Linked DNA regions of Homo sapiens: region 1 is linked to region 2. Evidence: promoter capture Hi-C in 16 types of primary human blood cells and fetal thymus (Javierre and others, 2016). All regions are on one chromosome and are shown on one strand. Each heading gives the region's core, a stretch centred on a gene start or on the middle of the fragment in contact. The rest is flanking DNA. Distances are from core to core; before and after follow the strand shown. Region 1 has its middle 35 kb from the start of FOSL2-AS1. Region 2 holds the start of SUPT7L (SPT7 like, STAGA complex subunit gamma).

Region 1 (5,771 bases), core at 742-3,241, 770 kb after region 2:
CACTTGAGGCCAAGAATTCGAGACCAGCCTGGGCAACATGGCGAAACTCAGTCTCTACAAAAAACAAGTTTTAAAAATTAGTTGGCCGTAGTGGTGCATGCTGTAGTCCCAGCTACTCAGGAGGCTGAGGTGGGAGTGTCACTTGAGCCTGGGAGGTTGAGGCTGCAGTGAGCTACGGTCACGTCACTGCACTCCAGCCTGGGCAACAGAGTGAGTCCCTTTTTCAAAAAATAAAAAAGAGAAATAGGAAATAGCATAGAATGGAGGAGCTGAGCCACAGGTGCTGCTGGTGGGCGCACAGGGCAAGGTGGACAAGGGACGGGGAGGGAGACAAAGGCAGAAGAGGTCCCTTCTCCTCCTCCTTCCTCAGGGAGTAATGGAAAATAACTTGGACCCAGACACAAAAGGCCACATGTTGTATGATTCCATTTATTCCATTACCAGACTGGGTAAACCCAAAGAGACAGAACACAGATTGGTGGCTGTCCGGGGCTAGGAAGAGGGCGAAAAGCGACACTGGCTGCTTAACAGGGATGGGGTTTCTCTTTGGAGTGATGAGAGTGTTGGAACTAGATAAAAGTGGTAGCTGCACAGCGTCGTGAATGTGCTAAATGCCACTGAATTGTTCACTTTAAAATGGTCAATTTCGTTGTTTTTTATTTATTTTGTGGAGATGGGCTTTCTCCATGTTGGCCAGGCTGGTCTCGAACTCCTGGCCTCATGTCATTCACCCACCTTGGTCTCCCAAAGTGCTGGGATTACAGGCATGAGCCACCATGCCTGGCCTAAAATGGTTAATTTTTATGTTATGTGAATTTCGCATCAAAAAGAGACAAAGAAAGAGCTTGGATCTGGAGAGAGGGGAGCGCCATGGGGGCCTTTTCCTCTCCTAGTCCCTGATGACGTTCCAGTGACTCCTCAGATTCTGGGGCTGGCCGGGTCTCTTCTGACTAGAAAGAGGGCCTTGCAGAGCCACCCGGGTCCTCTCTTGGCACAGGTAAGCTTGGACAACTGGACATTGGCCCCTGCGCATGCCAGGGCACTGCAAGAGCATCGCAAGCTTCTCAGACACAGGACCTGGATGGATGACAGTCTTTCCTTCATGGAGCAGAAGAAGGATGCCTCAGGAAGCTTCTGCACCAAGAATGAGGCCTCAAAAGCAAGGGTCAGGAAATGTGGGAGTGTTTGTAAGGGCATGGGATTGGCTTGTCTAGCTGAGGGGACAGTGTGGTCAAACAGAAACTACCCAGAGTATGGAACCAGAAGTGCTGCTCTACCAACTAATAGTTGTGTAATCTTAAGCAAGTCACTTTCATCTGTGATTTAAAATAAAAGTCTCGGCCGGGTGCAGTGGCTCACACCTGTAATCCCAGCATTTTGGGAGGCCAAGGCTGCCAGATCGTTGAGCTCAGGAGTTTGAGAGCAGCCTGGGCAACATGGCAAAAACCCATCTCTACAAAAAATACAAAAAATAGCAGAGCATGGTGGTGTGTGCCTGTAGTCCCAGCTACTTGGGGGACAGAGGCAGGAGGATCACTTGGGCCCAGGAGATTGAGGCCGCAGTGAGCCATGTTTGGGCCACTGCACCCCAGTCTGGATGACAAAGCAAAATCCTGTCTCAAAAAATAAAATAAAATAAAGTTTCATTCATTGCCAGTGGGAATGCAAAACAGAACAAATACTTTGGAAGACAGTTTGGTGGTTTTTCACAAAATTAAACATATTGTTACCAGGCGACTCAGCAATTATGCTCCTTGGTATTTACCCAAAGGAACTGAAAATGTACATCCACACAGAAACCTGCACACCAATTTTATAGCAGCTTTATTCACAATTGCTAAAACTTAGACGCTACAAGGATGACCCTCAGTAGATGCTGAATAAATAAACTGGGGTATATCCAGACAATGGAATACTATTCAGTATTCAGTGCTACAAAAAAAAAAAAATATGAGCCATGAAACCACAAAAAGACATGGAAAAAACTTAACTGCATGTCTGTAAGTGAGGGAATCCTAGTGTAAACTGTGGAATCCAGGTGATAATGATAAGTCAGTGCAGGTTCATTGATGGAAAGAAATGCACCACTCTGGTTGGAGCTGTTGACAGTGGAGGACCCTATGCACGTGTGTGGGCAGGGAGTATCTGGGATCACTCTGTACTTTCTGCTTAATTTTGCTGTGAACCTAAAACCACTCTAAAAAATAAAGGCTATTTTTAAAAGTTGGTTTGAGACCAGCCTGGGCAATATGGTGGGACCCCATCTTTATAAAAAAATTTAAAAAGTTAGCCAGGTATGCTGATGTGCCACTTGTAATACTAGCTACTCGGGAGGCTGAGGCAGGAGGATCACTTGAGCCTGAGAGATCAAGGCTGCTGTGAACTGGGATTTGGCACCACTGCACCCAGCCTGGGCAACAGAGTACGACCCTGTCTCAAAAAAAAAAAAAAAAAAAAAAAAATCGGACCTGAAAAAGAGAAAATAAAAGCTGTTGGTTTTGAGTGCTTACTCTGCAGCAGTGCAAAGCATTGCACACCCACTCTGTTTTTAGTCCCCACAATTACCTCCAGGTTATACATGAGAAAAAAACAGGCTCCGACAAATGGGTGACTTGTCCAAGGCTACCCATCTGGTCATCGAGGAGCCACAGAGGACTCTGCAGTGCCTGCTGTTGGTCACCTTTCTGCCTCGGTTGACCACCAAAATGATGAAAATAGTAATATCCCCTGCTGGTTGGCTGTGAGCATTAAATGAGCCTTGGACAAAAAGGCCCTTTGTAGAGGTTTTCATAGGAGTTATTGTTTTATTAAATGGATGATTAGGAAGTTGCTGTGTGAAGAATGTATGGACTAAGCTTTTGCAAAGGAGGGCTCAGTTTAAACTCAAGCCAGCATGCTATTGCTGAGATGTGAGAAATAGATGACAATCAGTAGCCCTTCTTAGACAAGTCAAAAGACCTCTGGAGCCTGCAAGAGCAAGCAACAGTGTGGGTTGTGGAGGCCACAGGGCTCCTACTGCTCCATGTCATGCAGGGCCTGATGGTGGACTAGGGCCATCTCTGCCTATCCCCTGTGCACAAAGCTGAGAGCCCAAGCCCTCAAGCAGCGGTGAGGTGGAGTGCAAAGGAACCTAGGCAACCTCTCTCAATTTTTCATGCTGAGGATGGAGCACATAACTGGCCCAGAGGGATCCCAGCTGGGAGTTTTAGCAGGTGCTTTGGAACTGGCCATTCCAGGGTTTAAAGTCCTTATTTGTTGAGTGACCTTGAACACGTTACTTAACCTCCTTGAACTTTCATTTTCTCATCTGCAAAATGAGGATAATAATATCTATTTCATAGGGTTGTCATAAGGATTACATGAGATAATGTGCTAAAGTCACTCAAATATAGTAAGTGCTGCAGGGTGGTTAATGCTATCATTATGTAGTCGTTGTCCTTATTATAACAAGAGGAAGGGTAAACCCAGAGAGTTGAAGCAATTTGTCCAAGGCCACACAGTAGCTAGCTGCAGGCCTGGGCTTCCTCCGGGGTCACGATTTCCACCCCTTCCTAAGTCGGGGCTTTTCTGAGAATCCTTAACAGGTCAGATGAACTGATAGTCTGCACCTCACGCCCTAAGTGCTGCCTCTCTACACCTTTTGACAATGGCATTAGAACACCACAGGCTGCCACTGCTTCCAGCTCAGCCACTAATGCACCACTTGCCAGGCAAACTGTGGAGGTTTTGTTGAGCTGCTCTGCACTGATCCCCTGCCCTCTTCCTGGGAGAGGGTCCTTCCTGTGGGAGGTAGCTGTGCTCCCGAGTGGGTCAGCATACCTGTCCATCTCCATGAGCCATTGGAGGATTCTGAAGGCCCTGGCATGCTGGTCCTGCAGCCAGAATCAGTATCCAGATCCATCCCCTACAACCTGCCTCTCCAGAGTGGAACCAAACCCATCAGTATTTCTGACTTTGTGACGCCTACTTCCACCTTCTCAGCAGGGCTTCCTGGCACACAGATGTTTTCACAATGGCCCCTGAGATAATGAAAGACACCTCGGCATTGTGACACAGAGCTAAGGAGCTCTGGCCCATATGAGGCTGTCTCTGATGCCCAACCCTGGGCATTTGGTGACCAGCAGGTGTGCTCGGCTCAGCCCTGGGAGGATCTCCCTGTTTAGTGTCTCTGCTACTCTGGAACCCCACCTCCTCCTGTCCTCTCCTCTCACACCAGGGGCCGTGCTTCTGGCATTTCAGAGCCCCCAGCCTCATAACCACCACCCCAGAGCCAGCACTCCTTTCCTCCCTGGGCAGTAGGCCACACATGGGCCCTGGGAGCAGGTGTAAGAGGGTGACTGGTTGAGAGTGGCACTGGGTAGTGTGGAAACCCTGAAGGGGCCCTTGCCTGCCAGGCGCAGCTGGGAGATCCCTGAAGGGGCCACAAGGAATTGCCACTAGCACCGAAGCAGCCTCACCATGCGCCAGCTGTTCTATGCACTTAACACACAGCAGCCTATGTAGTAGACACTATCATTACCCTCACTTTAGAGATGGGAAAATCGAGGAAGGGGCTAAATAGCTGGTCCAAGGGCACACAGCTTGAGACTGACAGAACAGAGATCTGAGCCCATCATGGGAGCCAGCATGCCATTGGCACCCTGCAGATGGTACCCCCTAATCCAATCCCGCTCACCCCACCATCTCTCTCTGCCACAGACAGATCTGTTATATCTGCAGCTGCATCCTCAAGACATGTGCTGTCTCTCCAAGTCAGGACAAGCTCATGAGGTGGATGGCCACTGGTTGAAGTCCCTCAGCCTGCTTTCCCCACCAGCGGGCCCAGCACCCCCACCTAACCCACGCCTGGCCCTGGCTTGGATACCATACCCTTCAAGGATTTTATGCAGAGCACCTTGCTGCCAGGATGACCTGGGCCAGGTCTGTGGCCACTTGCCTGGGGCACCTCTTGGAGATCACTTGTCGACCCTTAGGCACCAGGTCCAGGGTCAGGGTCCCTGGGAAGCTCCCTTGGCCCCAAGTCCTATTAGGCTGCCTAAGTCTTTTCTGGAACTTAGACCTGCCTTGGGGCAGAACTGGTGGATGGGGCCATAAGAAGCCCAGAAGTGTCTGGGGATAGCGTGGGGAGGGTGTTCCTCCAGCTCTGGCCCTACCCCTCCCAGCCTGCATCTGCTGCTCTAACGGTAGACCCTGCCCCAAGCCCCTGCCTCCTTTTCTCATGCTTCTCATCCATTCCGGACCCTCTCTCCTCCCATAAATCATACAGCCAAGGTTCATTTATACCCAGTGAGGAAATGCCTACAAAACCGCTCAGCTTGGGGCCTGGCAGCCTGCGGCTCCAGGTAGGAGCTTCCCTTCCCTTTGCCTTTATCTCTCCACGTGGCTGGCCATGGTCAAGTGGCAGATTCCTACCTCCAGCCTCTACTCCACATCACCTACACTGCCAGATAAAGGGCAGACTCCTTTTGAGCCGTGGTCATCTGCAATACTTTTCTCCCTTCCCTCTACCTGGAGAACTCCTTCTTCTCCGGAAGAACTCAGCAGAAGTGTCACTTCCTCCAAAGCCTTCCAGGGTGCCCCAGGCAGTGGGCGGCTCCTGCCCCAGTGGCCACAGTGCTCTGCCCACACTGCCTAGAATACTTACGGAGAGCTTTTGGTACTGGCGATTTATTTGATGACTCTAGCCGGGGCCCCACAAAGATGAGTACATGTGTCTTCTTTTTTTCTTTGGATTACTTACCAAAAATTTTTAAAAATCGTAAAAATAATTA
Region 2 (5,848 bases), core at 617-3,116:
CCCATCTCACTCACTAACTCATTACCAGAACTACCATCACGCTCAATCCTGAACAATAAGCAAGGCATGATAAGGTATCTTGATACATCTGTGCTGGATCAATAGGAGAAAAACTAGTAGGGTTAAAGATAATAAGAAGTGGTTCTTACTCTGTGTGTCTTAGGCATGATCCTGGTGGAAAAATTTATGAACCATTAATCTAAATGGCATTATGCTTTCAACTTTTGACATATAGAACGTGAGAGATTTCTGCTGCCTTCTAACTGGTATCCCTTCCTCCAATCTCTCTTTGTATGTCATCTATTCTCTACACTGCTGCTAGACTTACTCTTTTTAAAACTTAAATCAAATGGCTTCCCATTGCCTATTGGAAAAAGTCAGAATTCCTTGGCTTACCATTCAACAAAATTCACAATCTGGTTTCAACTCACCTTTGCAGATTCATTGTCCATATGTCTCTTCAAGTTCAACAAACATTTATCAAATGCCAGGCATTCTGTGTCGGTCAAAGACTGATAATGTGAGATCCTTGCCCTGAAGTGAGGAAGAGAAACAGAAGCAGAATATTTCAATATGAAACATGGTAAGTACTGTTCTAGAGGTATATGGACCTGGGGTACTGGAAGCACAAAGGAGGAGCTTCCTGGGTGAAATGACTACCTTTGTTCTAACAACATTATACTACTCAGTTTCTTGAGAATGCTGTACATTTCCACAATTGACACTTTCAGCTGTGAACTCTGCCAGAAATGCTCTGCCAACCTTGCACATCCCTGGCAGACTCATATTCATTTTTAAGTACAGCATAAGTCCCCACCGTCCGTCACTTCACCAGTGCATCTCCCTTTCTCTATTCTCACAGTGCTTTGCAAGTCTATGTCACAGCAGTTATCCTTGGATTTTAATTAGTACTTATCGCAATAGATTTTTTCTGCCCGTCTATTTCTTATGGCTGTGGTCTTGTTACAGGGCCAGGCACACAGAAATATCTGGCATTTGTTGAATGTTTACTATATGCCAGACTTCACCTTTTTTGTTTGTTTCTTTTTTGAGACAGGGTTTCACTCTGTAGCCCAGGCTGGAGTGCAGTGGTGCAGTCATGGTTCACTGCAGCCTCAACCTCCTGGGACCAAGCAATCCTCCCACCTCAGCCTCTGGAGTAGCTGGGACTACAGGCGCGCACCATCAAACCTGGATTTTTTCTTTTTTTTTTTTTTTTTTGGCGAGACAGGGTCTCGCCATGTTGCCCAGCCTCCTCTGGAACTCCTGGGCTCAAGCAATCCTCCCGCCTCAGCCTCCCAAAATGTTGGGATTACAGGCATGAGCCACCGGTCTGGCTGGCCTTTATTGTTTGATTCAATTCTTCCAACAACCCTATGAGGCTAATAATCTTATCCCCATTTTTCAGAGTGAGGGCTGAGGCCTAGTGTCTTGCCCAATGTCACAAATGGCGAGGTCAAAAATCGACAGTCTCCAGAGTCTGCTCTCTTAACCACTTAACTATTCTGCCTTAATAATTTCAGAAAAAAAATAAATGAATGAACGAAATAACAAAAAAGTCGCCCTCTTCCCTTACTTTACCGAAAGGAGCACGAAGAACAGGCACGGAGCCCAAGGAATGCCCAAGTCCCTCCAGGGGTTTCCTCGGTCACGGTCCGCCGGCGCAGGCGCCAATCACAGGGTCCTGAGGTCGCCTGACGTTCAGGGCAGCCGGAAGACGGGGAGGTCTGGACCTGAACCGAGACAAGGAGGTACCACACTATTCACTGCTGCGTCGCAGAGCGGGCTGGGCGGCTGTCTGGACCTCGAGAGGCCTGAGGCAAGGATCGCGTCAGACCCCGAAAGCTGGTTTGTTGATTAGTGATCTAAGACCGCCGGAAGCGCTTCTTCTCAATCAAGCTATGCAACAGGAAGTCATTACGATCCCGTTGTAACCTCTAAATATGTCCCCGTTCTGCACAGCATCCCGATAACCGTTTTGTTTTTCTCATATTATGACCTTCTCATGTTAGCACCACTTCGCAACGCTCCAGGTCGTGAAGGAGCAACTTCACCATCGCCGCCTACAGACGCCACTGGGAGCTTGGGAGAGTGGGACGTGGACAGGAACGTAAAGACCGAAGGGTGGGTTTCGAAGGAGCGGATTTCGAAGTTGCACCGGTTGAGGATGGCTGACATTCTCTCTCAGTCAGAGACCCTGGCGTCGCAAGACCTCAGTGGGGACTTCAAGAAGCCAGCTCTGCCGGTGTCCCCAGCGGCGCGGAGTAAGGCCCCGGCCAGCAGTTCTTCAAACCCTGAGGAGGTACAGAAGGAAGGGCCCACTGCGTTGCAGGACTCCAATTCTGGGGAGCCCGACATCCCTCCTCCTCAGCCGGACTGCGGTGATTTTAGGAGTCTACAGGAGGAGCAGTCGCGCCCCCCGACAGCGGTTTCTTCCCCTGGCGGTCCAGCCCGGGCTCCCCCCTACCAAGAGCCTCCATGGGGTGGCCCTGCCACAGCCCCCTACAGCTTAGAGACCCTGAAGGGCGGCACTATCCTTGGCACCCGTAGCTTGAAAGGGACGAGTTACTGCCTTTTCGGGAGGCTGTCTGGCTGCGACGTGTGCCTGGAGCACCCTTCGGTGTCTCGGTACCACGCAGTGCTGCAGCACAGGGCGTCCGGCCCTGACGGAGAATGCGACAGCAACGGGCCGGGCTTCTACCTCTACGATCTGGGAAGCACCCATGGCACTTTTCTCAACAAAACTCGCATCCCACCTCGCACCTACTGTCGAGTCCACGTTGGGCATGTTGTTCGCTTTGGAGGCAGCACCCGGCTCTTTATCCTGCAGGTAGGTAGAAAAACCTAGAATTGAAATTTCGGGTTCATTGGACTGCGTTCTTGTGCTTCTTAAGCTTTGGATGAGGAAGAAGAATCTCCCACTCAGCGATTACGAAAGTGAAGGAATCAAGTCTGGCCTATCATCTTCAGACGGCTGTACACATTGCTATATTTCTGAAAGTCATGTTCACAATCCCGAACTCTAAAATAACTTGTTTGGCCAGGCGCGGTGGCTCGCGCCTGTAATCCCAACACTTTGGGAGGCCCAGGCGGGAGGATCGCTTTAGCCCAGGAGTTTGAGAGGAGGCTGGGCAACATGGCAAGACCCTGTCTCTTAAAAAAAAAAAAAAAAATTAGCCAGGCATCATGGTCCCAGCTGCTCAGGAGGCTGAGGTGGGAGGATCACCTGAGCCCAGGAGGTCAAGGCTGCAGTGAGGTGTATTACAGCCACTGCACTCCAGTCCAGCCTAGGCGACAGAGCAAGACCCTGTCTCTAAATAAATAAATAACCTTTTTTTCCTTGGTTCATCAGGGACCAGAGGAAGACCGAGAGGCAGAATCCGAGTTAACAGTAACACAGTTGAAGGAATTGCGCAAGCAGCAGCAAATATTGTTGGAGAAGAAGATGCTAGGAGAAGACTCAGATGAAGAAGAGGAAATGGATACCTCTGAAAGGAAGATAAATGCTGGTAGCCAAGATGATGAGATGGGTTGCACCTGGGGAATGGGTAAGAAATTAAAATTGCTGCCGGAGGTTAATATTTTAAGTTCATTACAAGTGGTACCCTTAAATGTTTTTTTAAATCATACAGCTTTTCATGGCTCCTTGAGATAGATAGGGCAAACACAATTTGCACATGAGGTAACCAAAACCCAGAGAGATTCACTGACTTTACTGTTGTAAAGAAATTGACTTATAGGCACTTTGGATTTTTTAAAAATTTATTTTTAATGCACTCTCTTGTTCAAAACTTGTCCTAAGCATAAAATTATTATTTTTACAATTCTAAAATTTTATATTTATTAAGTACTGACCTTGTGCTATGTGATTATCATTGGAGGGGATGGAACTCTATTCAATCAAATAAATGGGATGTTATTCAATATAGGATATTCTCTTGAATTTTTTGTACTTTGTGAAGATATCCTGAAATGTGGAATATCTAATCAGATAAAGCTGGTCCCTTAGCCAAAATAATAAACTTTCTTTAACACCAGATATTTTAGAAAATGGATATTCAGGAGATGGGAGTATAAAAAGGTAGAAGATGGCATTAATATATAGTTGGGAAGATAGGAAAAATTATGAAATTACTTGTGCTAAGTGCCAAACAAAAGCTAGAAACCATAAGTATGCTAGAGTGAAAGTTTGGAGAAGAGAGAACAGTCACTGGGGACTTAGACCTGTGTTGTCTGATATGGTAGCCACTAGCCACATGTGGTTACTGAGCACTTGCAGTGTGGCTAGTTGCAATTGATGTGTGCTGTAAATGCAAAATACACACTGAATTTCAAAGACTTAGTCTGAAAAAAAGAATGTAAAATATCTCTTTCATGATATTTTTATATTGATGACATGTTGAAATGACAATAATTTTACCTGTTTCCTTTTAATTTTTTAATGTGGCTAATAGAAAATTTAAGATGACGCATACAGCTGTCATTATATTTCTGTTGGACAGCACTGACTTAGATCTTTGGGAAACTTAATTTTTTTTATTTTAGTAGAGATGGGGTTTCACCATATTGGCCAGGCTGGTCTTGAACTCCTGACCTTGTGATCCACCCCCCACCCCCCCCCCCCACCCCGCCCCCCGGCCTCCCAAAGTGTAGAGATTACAGGCGTGAGCGATCGCACTCCACAGGGAAGCTTTATGAGCATAAGGATTTTGAGCTGGAACTTGAAGGAAAGGAAAAGCCTTATGAAGCTGAGTATTGGGATTGGTATTCAGGGTAGGAATTGATGATTTTAAGGAAGTTGTGAGTAGACCAGTCTATTTGGCAGATATAAGAAGTATTAGGAAATTATATTGGGAACGAAAGTTAGATATGAGTGTGAGAGAACAAGAATGCCAGGCTGAGGAGCTCAAATTTTTTTTCCACAATGTGGTAGGTAATTTTACTTTTAAAATATAATGATGGAGAAAAAAAAATTAAGGTGCCATGAAAACAAGTTTTGACTTGTCACACAATTTAGAAAACCTGAATATGCTCATACTAGTGGTTTTGTGGTGGTTGTTCCACCCCCTGTCCCTGCAAGTATTTATTATTTTTCATCACAGATAAACTATATATATATATATATTTTTTTTTTTTTGGGAGACGGTCTCACTGTGTTGCTTGGGTTGGAGTGCAGGTAGCGCGATCTTGGCTCACTACAACTTCTTCCTCCCAGGTTCAAGCAATTCTCCTGCCTCAGCCTCCCAAGTAGCTGGGATTACAGACACCCGCCACTGTGCCCAGCTAATTTTTTTTGTATTTTTAGTAGAGATGGGGTTTCACCATGTTGGCCAAGCTGGTCTTGAACTCCTGACCTTGTGATCCACCTGCCTTGGCCTCCCAAAGTGCTGGGATTACAGGCATGAGCCACTGCGCCCAGCCTAAACTATATCTTTATGCAGCCTGAGAGAATAGTGGGTATCATTCAAATAGTCTCTTCTCATGTCTGATTATCTTTTCTTTCTTTTCCATATCCTGTAGGAGAAGATGCAGTAGAGGATGATGCTGAAGAGAACCCTATTGTCTTAGAGTTTCAGCAGGAAAGGGAGGCCTTTTATATAAAGGATCCCAAAAAGGCTCTCCAAGGCTTTTTTGACCGAGAAGGTATGTAAACAGATTCTGACCCTACCACTAAAACATATCCAGAGCAGTGTGGTTTTCTAGAGCTTCATGTTGAGCTTTATACTAAGATATGCTATAATTTTATTGCTGTCCTTCTTGTTCACTTTTTACTCTTGTGGTCAGTTGCTTTAGGTTTATTTTGAAAATTATTCCTCATTAGTATGGCAGAGGGGAAAAAAATCATAAA

Evidence for each region. Contacts are between HindIII fragments. The CHiCAGO score rates a contact against its expected background, and 5 or more counts as called.
Region 1: a contact is called between a fragment that was not itself captured here and the fragment with the promoter of SUPT7L in region 2, in 1 of 17 cell types (endothelial precursors). The highest score is 5.5, in endothelial precursors.

The regions. Positions count from the first base shown.
Region 1 is chr2:28,426,970-28,432,740 of GRCh38, forward strand. No RefSeq gene overlaps it. Among named protein-coding and RNA genes, the nearest start is that of FOSL2-AS1, 35 kb to the left of the region's middle. The HindIII fragment of the contact is 1,724 bases long and covers 1,130-2,853 here.
Region 2 is chr2:27,661,748-27,667,595 of GRCh38, forward strand. SUPT7L (SPT7 like, STAGA complex subunit gamma) reads right to left here and starts at 1,867. Exons shown (of 6, transcript NM_014860.3): 1 at 1,582-1,867; 2 at 432-534. The coding sequence starts at 445. It overlaps SLC4A1AP (solute carrier family 4 member 1 adaptor protein), which reads left to right and starts at 2,142. Exons shown (of 14, transcript NM_018158.3): 1 at 2,142-2,830; 2 at 3,353-3,548; 3 at 5,521-5,643. The coding sequence starts at 2,168. The HindIII fragment of the contact is 6,150 bases long and covers 1-2,892 here.